Linked DNA regions of Homo sapiens: region 1 is linked to region 2. Evidence: promoter capture Hi-C in human tissues and cell types (Jung and others, 2019). All regions are on one chromosome and are shown on one strand. The core of a region is centred on a gene start or on the middle of the fragment in contact, and the rest is flanking DNA. Distances in the headings are between cores, read along the strand shown. Region 1 holds the start of LOC100996662 (a long non-coding RNA gene). Region 2 holds the start of KIFC2 (kinesin family member C2).

Region 1 (3,790 bases), core at 807-3,306, 230 kb after region 2:
TTTATTGCTCTGAGTTTTAAAAAAATTTTATTGTGGTAAAATTCATATAACATAAAATTTACCATCTTAACCTATTTTAAGTGTACAGTTCAGTGATATTCAATACATTCACAATGTTGTGCACTTATCACCATCATCCATCTCCAGAACTCTTTAACTGTGTAAAACTAAAACTGTCCCCATTAAACACTAACTCCCCATTCTCCCCTCCCCTCAGTCCCTAGTAACCAACATTCTTTCTGTCTGTATGGATTTGAATGCTCTAGGTACTGCACATAAGCAGAATTATACAGAATTTGTCGTGACTGGCTTATTTATTGCTCTGTTTTTAATTAAGGCTTTAAATACCTCTAGAAATATTTTCATATATGTTATGAGACAGAGGACAACTTTAATTTCTTCTAAATATATTAATGATCCTGGTCGGGCGCGGTGGCTCATGCCTGTAATCCCAGCACTTTGGGAGGCCGAGGCAGGCGGATCACTTGAAGTCAGGAGTTTGAGACCTGCCTGACCAACATAGTGAAACCCCATCTCTACTAAAAATACAAGAAAATTAGCCAGGCATGATGGCATGCGCCTGTAGTTCCAGCTACTCGGGAGGCTGAGGCAGGAGGATCGCTTAAACCCAGGACCTGGAGGAGGTTGCAGTAAGCTGACATCGTGGCTTGGGTGACAGAGCAAGATCCCTCTCAAAAAAAAAAAAAAAAAAGTAATAGCTTTAGCATATCGTTCTATAAATGATGCTTGTTCTTGGAGTTTATGGTTAATAATTTTTACCATATTTAAATCATTTTCATTTATTCCTATTTTCTTTGAAATTTTACTCAGAATGGCTCTAGAATTGTATTCAATGTTATTATTTAGCATATGTGGATGGAATGCTGTTTTTTCTTTTTCTTTTTCTTTTTTTTTGAGAAGGAGTTTCACTCTTGTTGCCCAGGCTGGAGTGCAATGGCGTGATCTCAGCTCACTGAAACCTCCACCTCCCGAGTTCAGGCAATCCTCCTGCCTCAGCCTCCCATGCCCAGCTAATTTTTTTGTATTTTTAGTAGAGACAGGGTTTCACCATGTTGGCCAGGCTGGTCTCGAACTCCTGACCTCAGGTGATCTGCCTGCCTCGGCCTCCCAATGTGCTGGGATTACAGGTGTGGGCCACTGCACCCGGCCTGTTTTTTCTCTTTTAATTTGTTGAGCTAATGAATTGCAATGGTATGTAGGTATCCTTGTATTCCTGAAATAAACCATACTTGGCCATGGCATATTATTTTTTTGATATGCTGCTTGATTCTATTTGCTACTGTCTTATTTATAATTTGTTTTTCAATATTAAACATAGAGATCTGGGTCTATAGATTCTTTGAGCTCTATCATTTTGGCGTGTTAAGCTTCGCTATGGTTTGGGTGTTTGTCCTCCTAAACCTCATGCTGAGATTTGATCCCCAATGTTGGAGGTGGTACTTGGTAGGAGGTGTTTGGATTATGGGGGTGGATCCCTCATGAATGCGTGGTGCCCTCTTCATGGTAATAAGGGAGTTCTAGTTCTATGAATTCCCCCAAAAGCTGGTTGTTTAAACAAGCCTGGCCTCTACCCACTCTCTTTCTTGCCTTTTCTCTTGCTGTGTGATCTCTGCACACCAGCTCCCCTTCATCTTCCACCATAAGTGAAAGCAGCCTGAGGCCTCACCAGTAGATACTGGTGCCATGCTTCCTGCACAGCCTGCAGAACTGTGAGCCAAATAAACCTCCTTTCTTTATATTACCCAGTCTCAGGTATTCCCTTTATAGCAACATAGACTTAGACAAGCTTACAGACAGAAGGCTTCGTAAAGTGAATTGAGGTTTTTAATCTTTTTCTGTGGCTTGGAAGATTGTAATTAACTTTCAAATTATCTGATCTCTAAAGGTTGGTGAGAGCTCAGCTGTGATCTGGAGCCATCTAGAGCTTTCTTAATGGTAGCTTTTTAATCACCTCTCTAATCTGTTTTTTTTTTGGCAATTAGTTAATTCAAGTTTTCTACTTTGGCTCAGCTTTAGTATTTTGCTAGGAACCTATCTGTTCCATCCATATTTTCTTGGCTTTTCCTGGCCTGCCTGGCACAGTCTGTACTGAGAGGACGAAGGCCTTTTCCATGAGTGTCCTTGGCCATGAGTGGGTCAGGGCATCTCCTTGTTGGCTTGGGTATCAGTGGGGAGTGGAATGAGGACACAGCTTCACCTCTAAGGACTCAGAAGCCTTCTTGCAAAGACAAGGCCACCCCTCCCTTGGGGGGGTTGGGGGGTCCAAGATGTGAATAAACATGGAGTGTTCACACCATCCCACGGCCTGCAACCCCAGTGAGAAGGCCCCAGCCGCGTTTCTCTTTGGAGTGGCCCATCCATAGCATTCTGCCTAAAAAAGCAGGGTCCTGGAGTTCCAGGGCTTCTCACTGCACAGGGCGTGGGACACACCTCTTGTCTCTTGGGAGGTACCCGGAGCCCAGCCTCTCAGGCGCTGGGCGATGCAGGGGGTGGGGACTGTAAGCCCTGGGAGATGGGGCAGTGAGGGGCGCTGTGAGGCAGGGTGGTGTGGGAACTGAAGGTGGGGGCGCTATGGAGGATGCGGGGTGGTGTGTTGTAGGGGAGGGCGGTGTAGGGGATGGGTGGGGCAGGGCAGTGGGGCGGGGCCTTGGGGCGGGCGCTGTGGGGCGGGGTGGTGTGGGGGGCTATGGGAAGGGGCACTCTGGGGAGCTGTGGGGTGGGGTGCTGTGGGGCACCTTGGGGCGGGCCGGTGTGGGGGTGCTGTGGGTGGGGCAATGTGGAGGGTCATAGGTTGGGGCCTTGAGGCGGGGGTGGGAGGCTGTGGGGTATTGTGGGGTGGGGCCTGGCGCTGTCAGGGGCGGTGGGGCTGAGGGACCCGAGGTCGAGGCCTCGTGAGGCGCTGTGGGGCAAGGTGCTGTGGGAGGCTTAGGGGGCTGGTGGGCTGGGGGCACGGAGGGGAGGCTGTGTGGGCGCTCGGCGGCAGGGCGGGGCGGGGTGCTGGTGGGCTACGGGACGGGAGGGTGGGACAGTCTGCGGACCATGCGGGGCTGGGTGGGCTGGATCAGTGCCCAAGTTGACTTCGCGTCACCAACTGGCATGAGGTTTGGGTAGGAAAGCGGGCTTCTCACAAGAATAAAATCCATCAAGGTCCTCTGTCTCCACTGGAGCCCCCAGTCACAGCGCCTTCCTCCGGGCTAGAACCTGTCGGGGGCCCCCAGCCTGTCCAGGGCCGCTGTCTTCCAGGAAAGAGAGAGCTGTGCCCAGAGAGGAGACAGAACTCTTTCTCCGTGAATCGCATCCTTTTCTGTGCGGGATGATTTACATTCTGGGAACAAACGGGGCCGTATCTCACAGTGCTGCAGGATGCCAGTGGTGCAAACAGTCGGCGACCCGGCCATTTCCCGAGGGTCTCAGGCGTCCCACCCAACGGCCGCTCCCCGTTCCCTGTCCGTCACCTCCTCGTTCTCCTACGAAGGCGCGAACGTTCCAGACTCTCGCCGGTCCTCGACAGCACTCATTCAGTCTCCCCCCTGGAGATCCCAGGCTGTACTCTGGGACAGAAAAGAAGGCGGGTACGACCGCGGTGTCGGGTCCTACCTTAGCCGCTCCTTCTCCTGAGGGAGCCAGGCGGGAGAGAGGGGAACCACCGAGGCCTCGGTCTTCCCGCGTCCCAGAGCGGCCGGGCGAGTCTCACTTCCGGCCTGTGACCCGCTGACCTGTCCTTGTCCCACCAGTCGGGCGGTGAATTGGACTGACTGGTGACCCCTGG
Region 2 (4,124 bases), core at 125-2,624:
AGGAAGCGCAGAAGCCAGCGACCTGGAGCCCTACGCGCGGCACTCTAGTAAGCCCAGGTTCCAGGTCCCCATTACTGGATGTTAGGAGAAGTTCAGTCCTAGACTTTCCGGATCCCTGAGGCCACTGCACACACCTGTGGAGAAGAAGAACCTAATTCAGCCGGGAAACGGGGGAAAACGACTCAGGGTCTAAGCTGGGGGGAACGTCAGCCCTGGGGCCCTGGAGCCCAAGTGGGAGTGCGGGCCTGGGGAAGAGAGAGCGGCGAGGCGCTGCAGGCCCACGCGGCGGCCTCGGCCTGCTCCCTGCGTTCCGGGAGGCGTTGTCCTGGGAACCCGGGTCCAGGAGGAGCGACGGCGCAGGACTCCGGGAGGCCAGCCGTGCGCAGTTACCGGGCTGCGCGGTCCCAACGCAGCGGCGAGCGGGAGGCCCGAGCCTGCGCAACGCACCGCCCACCGCCGTCGGCCCTGCCTCCTCTGCCGTGCCCCCAGTTGCGGGAGCGAGCGCGGTCGGGAACCTCCACCAGCGAGAGGAGCGGAGGCTAGAGCGGCCGGGCGGGGCTAGAGCGGCTGGGGGGGGAGGGTCGAGGCCTGGGGGAGAGGGTCGAGACCTGGGGGGGGCCGGTTGGAGGCCGTAGGAGCGGGTGGGGTCGGGAGGAGCTCGGGGACCAGAAAACGCTCTGTTTGGGTGGGTGCGTGCGTGGGCATAGTGGTTTGGAAGGAGCGTGATGAGGGGAGAAGGGCCGGGGCGGGGCTGCGAGGGGCGGGGTCTGGGCGGGGCTGCGAGGGGCGGGGGGTCTGGGCGGGGCTGAGGGAGATAAGGTTTAGGCGGGGCTGAGAGCGGCGGGTCTGAGAGGGAGGGGGCCTGGGTGGGGCGGGGCCTGGGCGAGGATGCGATGGGGGGGTCTGGGCGTGGCTGCGAGGGGCGGGGCCTGGGCGGGGCTGCGAGGAGAGGGGTCTGGGCGAGACTGAGAGGGACCGAGAGGGGAGGAGCCTGGGCGAGGCTGCAAGGAACGGGGTTTGGGCGGGGCTGCGAGGAGGGGGGGTCTGGGCGGGGCTGAGATGGGCGGGGCTGAGATGGGCGGGGCTGTAGGGAGAGGAAGGAGAACCCCGGCGTGTTGAAGGCTCCGCGAAACCGGAGCGGTGGGGGACTACGCGGAGGGTGGGAGGGATTCCGAGAGGAGGGTCGCGGGAGCCGTGGGCGCTCTCAGCCCGGTGTCCGCGGTGTAGGGGTTGGGGCGCGCCGGGCGGCGCCGTGAGAAACGGCGGGTCTCCAGGTGCGGCCGCGGGCACCTGTTTCTAGTACCCCCGTCCCCGCGCTCGCCTTCCAGCCGTGGGAGCCGGGCCGTGGGGGCGGCCGTCGCGAGCATGCGCACCGGCACTGCGGCGGGCGGGCGCCGAGTCTGGGCGCGGGGACGCGGGGCGGCGCGAAGCGGGGCCCTCTGCCGCCCCGCGCTCCCATGTACGCCTTTTACTCGTTGCTCATCTACATCTTCTACAGCCTCTTCCGCAGGGATGGTGGCGCCGCGGCGGCCGCGGAGCCCGGGGACCCCGCCCAGGTGAGCGGGGCTGGCCGTGCAGCCCGTCGTCTCCCGCCGCCTGCCCCACCCCCACGCCGAGGTTCCCGGGGCGGGGGCGGGCACGGGGCGCGGGGCGACGGGGCCGTGCCGAGGACCCTCGGCTCGGCCCCGATGCTGGAAGCGTAGACTTCGGCCCCAATCCTCCGGCCCGGTTCGCGGAGGGAAGGGGCCAGCAGGCTGCCTGCCCCCCTCCTCAGGGGCGCCCCTGCCCCCTCCCTAGAGAGCCCGCAAGCCCCGGGGTCGCCGGCGCCCAGACCTGCCCGCGCCAGAGCTGTGGACCGAGCTGACCGGCCTGGCCGGTAGGTGCGGGCTGGGAGTCCCGCGGTGCGAGGGCGGTGCCGGGACCTCCCAGGGAGGGGCGGAGGCCTGGCTCAAGCACGTGACCCGAAATGTCTCCCGCCCTCCTCCCTGACCGGCAGCCAGCTCCGAGCCTGAGGATGGGTCGGAAGGCGCAGCCGAGGGCCGCGCGGCCGCGGTGTCCCTGGAAGAGGCCCTACTGCGCCTCGCCGAGTTCCTCTCCGTCCAGCTGGGGGCGGAAGAGAGCTGCGGGGGCCCGGCGGACCTGGGCCAGGTGAGCGCGGCGGAGGGGGCTGCTGGCAGGTACCACCTGCCCCGGCCTTCCTGGCTTTCACAGCCCTGCTCGGATTCTTGTCTCCTTCGCAGTCTGGCGAGGTCCCCTCACTGTTGACAGTGACCAGTCAGCTCTTGGCCCTTCTGGCATGGCTTCGAAGCCCCAGGGGGAGGCAGGCCCTGCTCCAGGGGACTCAGCCAGCCCCTCGGGTCCGGCCCCCCTCTCCAGATGGTGAGTAAAGGACAGTAAGTTGAAGAAGAACTCTGGAGGGAGCAAATCCCGGTAGAACCTGGGCGGCCTGGAGTTCGGGGTCATGTTCCGGAAGATTTGGACTAGAGACCTCTTCAGTGCTAACTGGGCCCACCCTACTCCAGGATCCACATCCCAAGAAGAAAGCCCTTCCCACTTCACCGCAGTCCCAGGCGAGCCACTGGGGGATGAGACCCAGGGACAGCAGCCCCTCCAGTTGGAGGAGGATCAGAGGGCGTGGCAGCGGCTGGAGCAGCTCATCCTGGGACAGGTGAGGTCCCTGGAGCCAGAAGGGATTGCCGGCTGGGACGCCAGAAAAAGGAGGTCCACCCTGTCTCTCTTACTTCTCCCCAGCTGGAGGAGCTGAAGCAGCAGCTGGAACAGCAGGAGGAGGAGTTGGGTCGACTGCGCCTGGGCGTGGTGAGGCTGCAGGGAGACCTGGCAGGGCCGGGCATGGAGGGGGTGCTTCAGGTGAGTGCCGAGGTTTCCTCTCCACCAGGGGGCGACGGACTCAGAGAAAAGGGTTCAGCATCTGACTCTGGAGAACGAGGCCCTGAAGCAGAGCCTGAGTCTCATGCGGGACCTCCTGCTGCACTGGGGCCCCGGGCCCCCCATCAGGGCTCCGCAGGTACTCTGCTCCCGAGCTGCAGCCGTTCCTGCAGCCTGGGGCTCTTGCACACCTGGCATGCAGCCACAGGGCCCGAGCCTCCTCAGGACCTCCCGGGATGGTCTGTGTAGGGCAGCCCCATCAGGGAGGCTGATGCCAATGGGAAGACCCCCCTCTCCGTGGCCCCTCTGAGTGGCTGACCCCAGGAGAGCAGAGGGACTGTGGGAAGGAGGTCTGCGTGGAGCTGGGAGGCATGGGTTCACAGCCAGCTCTGCCCACCTCTTGACTTGACTTTCCCATCTGTGAAATGGTACCACAGACCGTCCCTCTCTGAGTCCCTCCTGGCCCCCACCCTCCCGCAGGAGGAGGCAGAGGCATTGCTAGAGCTCCAGGGCCGGCTTCAGGAGGCCCAAGACACCACAGAAGCCCTCCGAGCCCAGGTGGGCATGGGGCCCAGGGATCCATGGCTCAGGGGTGAGGCGGGCTGGGGTTTTGGGAGGGGCTTATCTGAGGCAGGGCCTGGTAAGTGCCTGTTTCCTCAGTGACAGGGGTGGGGTTGGGCGGGGCAGCTGGGGGTGCAGGAGGTGCAGCTGCAGGGCCTTCAAGGGGCCCTCCAGCAGCTCCAGCAGGAGACGGAGCAGAACTGCAGGCGTGAGCTACAGCAGATGCATGGGCAGCTGGCAGGTAAGGGTTGGGGTTGGGGCTCATGGGAGGCCCTGGAGGCTGGGCCTTCCCTTCCAACAGACTTCCCTCTCCAGGACTTCGGGCACGGATGGCCAGCCTGCGTCAGGGCTGCGGGGACCTCCGAGGTTTGGTCAGCACCTTTACCCAGAGCTGTCAGGGTTCGCTGAGTGAGGCCCGGGGCCAGGTCAGGACCCCTCCCCGCCTAGCCCCTCCTCTCTGGGCAGCCTATTCACTGTTCTTTTGACGGGGGCGTTCCTGGGGAGTTGGCTGTACTAATAAGTGGGGCTCTGGAACCCAAACAGCTTCTGTGTGACCCAGGGTGGGATTCCACTTCTGGGCCTTATTTTAATTCTATGCATACTTGGTTGACAGTAAACTCTTAAAGCATTGCCCAGAAGCACGGAGGAGACAGATGATGTGGTGTTCCTGCCTGTCA

Evidence for each region. The method cuts DNA at HindIII sites, captures the fragments that hold promoters and counts their contacts. A contact is called where the count stands out against the background at its distance.
Region 1: a contact is called between a fragment that was not itself captured here and the fragment with the promoter of KIFC2 in region 2, in 1 of the 25 tissues and cell types used here (H1 embryonic stem cells).

What each region holds. Positions count from the first base shown.
Region 1 is chr8:144,696,622-144,700,411 of GRCh38, forward strand. It overlaps LOC100996662 (a long non-coding RNA gene), which reads left to right and starts at 3,770. Exons shown (of 3, transcript XR_001746144.3): 1 at 3,770-3,790. It also overlaps a transcript of ARHGAP39 not described here. The HindIII fragment of the contact is 3,287 bases long and covers 414-3,700 here.
Region 2 is chr8:144,464,963-144,469,086 of GRCh38, forward strand. KIFC2 (kinesin family member C2) reads left to right here and starts at 1,375. Exons shown (of 18, transcript NM_001369769.2): 1 at 1,375-1,556; 2 at 1,798-1,876; 3 at 1,997-2,148; 4 at 2,241-2,379; 5 at 2,523-2,668; 6 at 2,752-2,817; 7 at 2,897-3,025; 8 at 3,367-3,444; 9 at 3,574-3,688; 10 at 3,763-3,872. The coding sequence starts at 1,458. It overlaps TMEM276-ZFTRAF1 (TMEM276-ZFTRAF1 readthrough), which reads right to left and starts at 739. Exons shown (of 5, transcript NM_001408018.1): 1 at 609-739; 2 at 1-134. TMEM276 (transmembrane protein 276) reads right to left here and starts at 530. Exons shown (of 3, transcript NM_032687.4): 1 at 391-530; 2 at 1-134. RefSeq lists silencers at 249-478, 529-788, 859-988, 1,049-1,608, 1,659-1,968 and 1 more and enhancers at 1,742-2,578, 2,269-2,368. The HindIII fragment of the contact is 34,202 bases long and covers 1-4,124 here.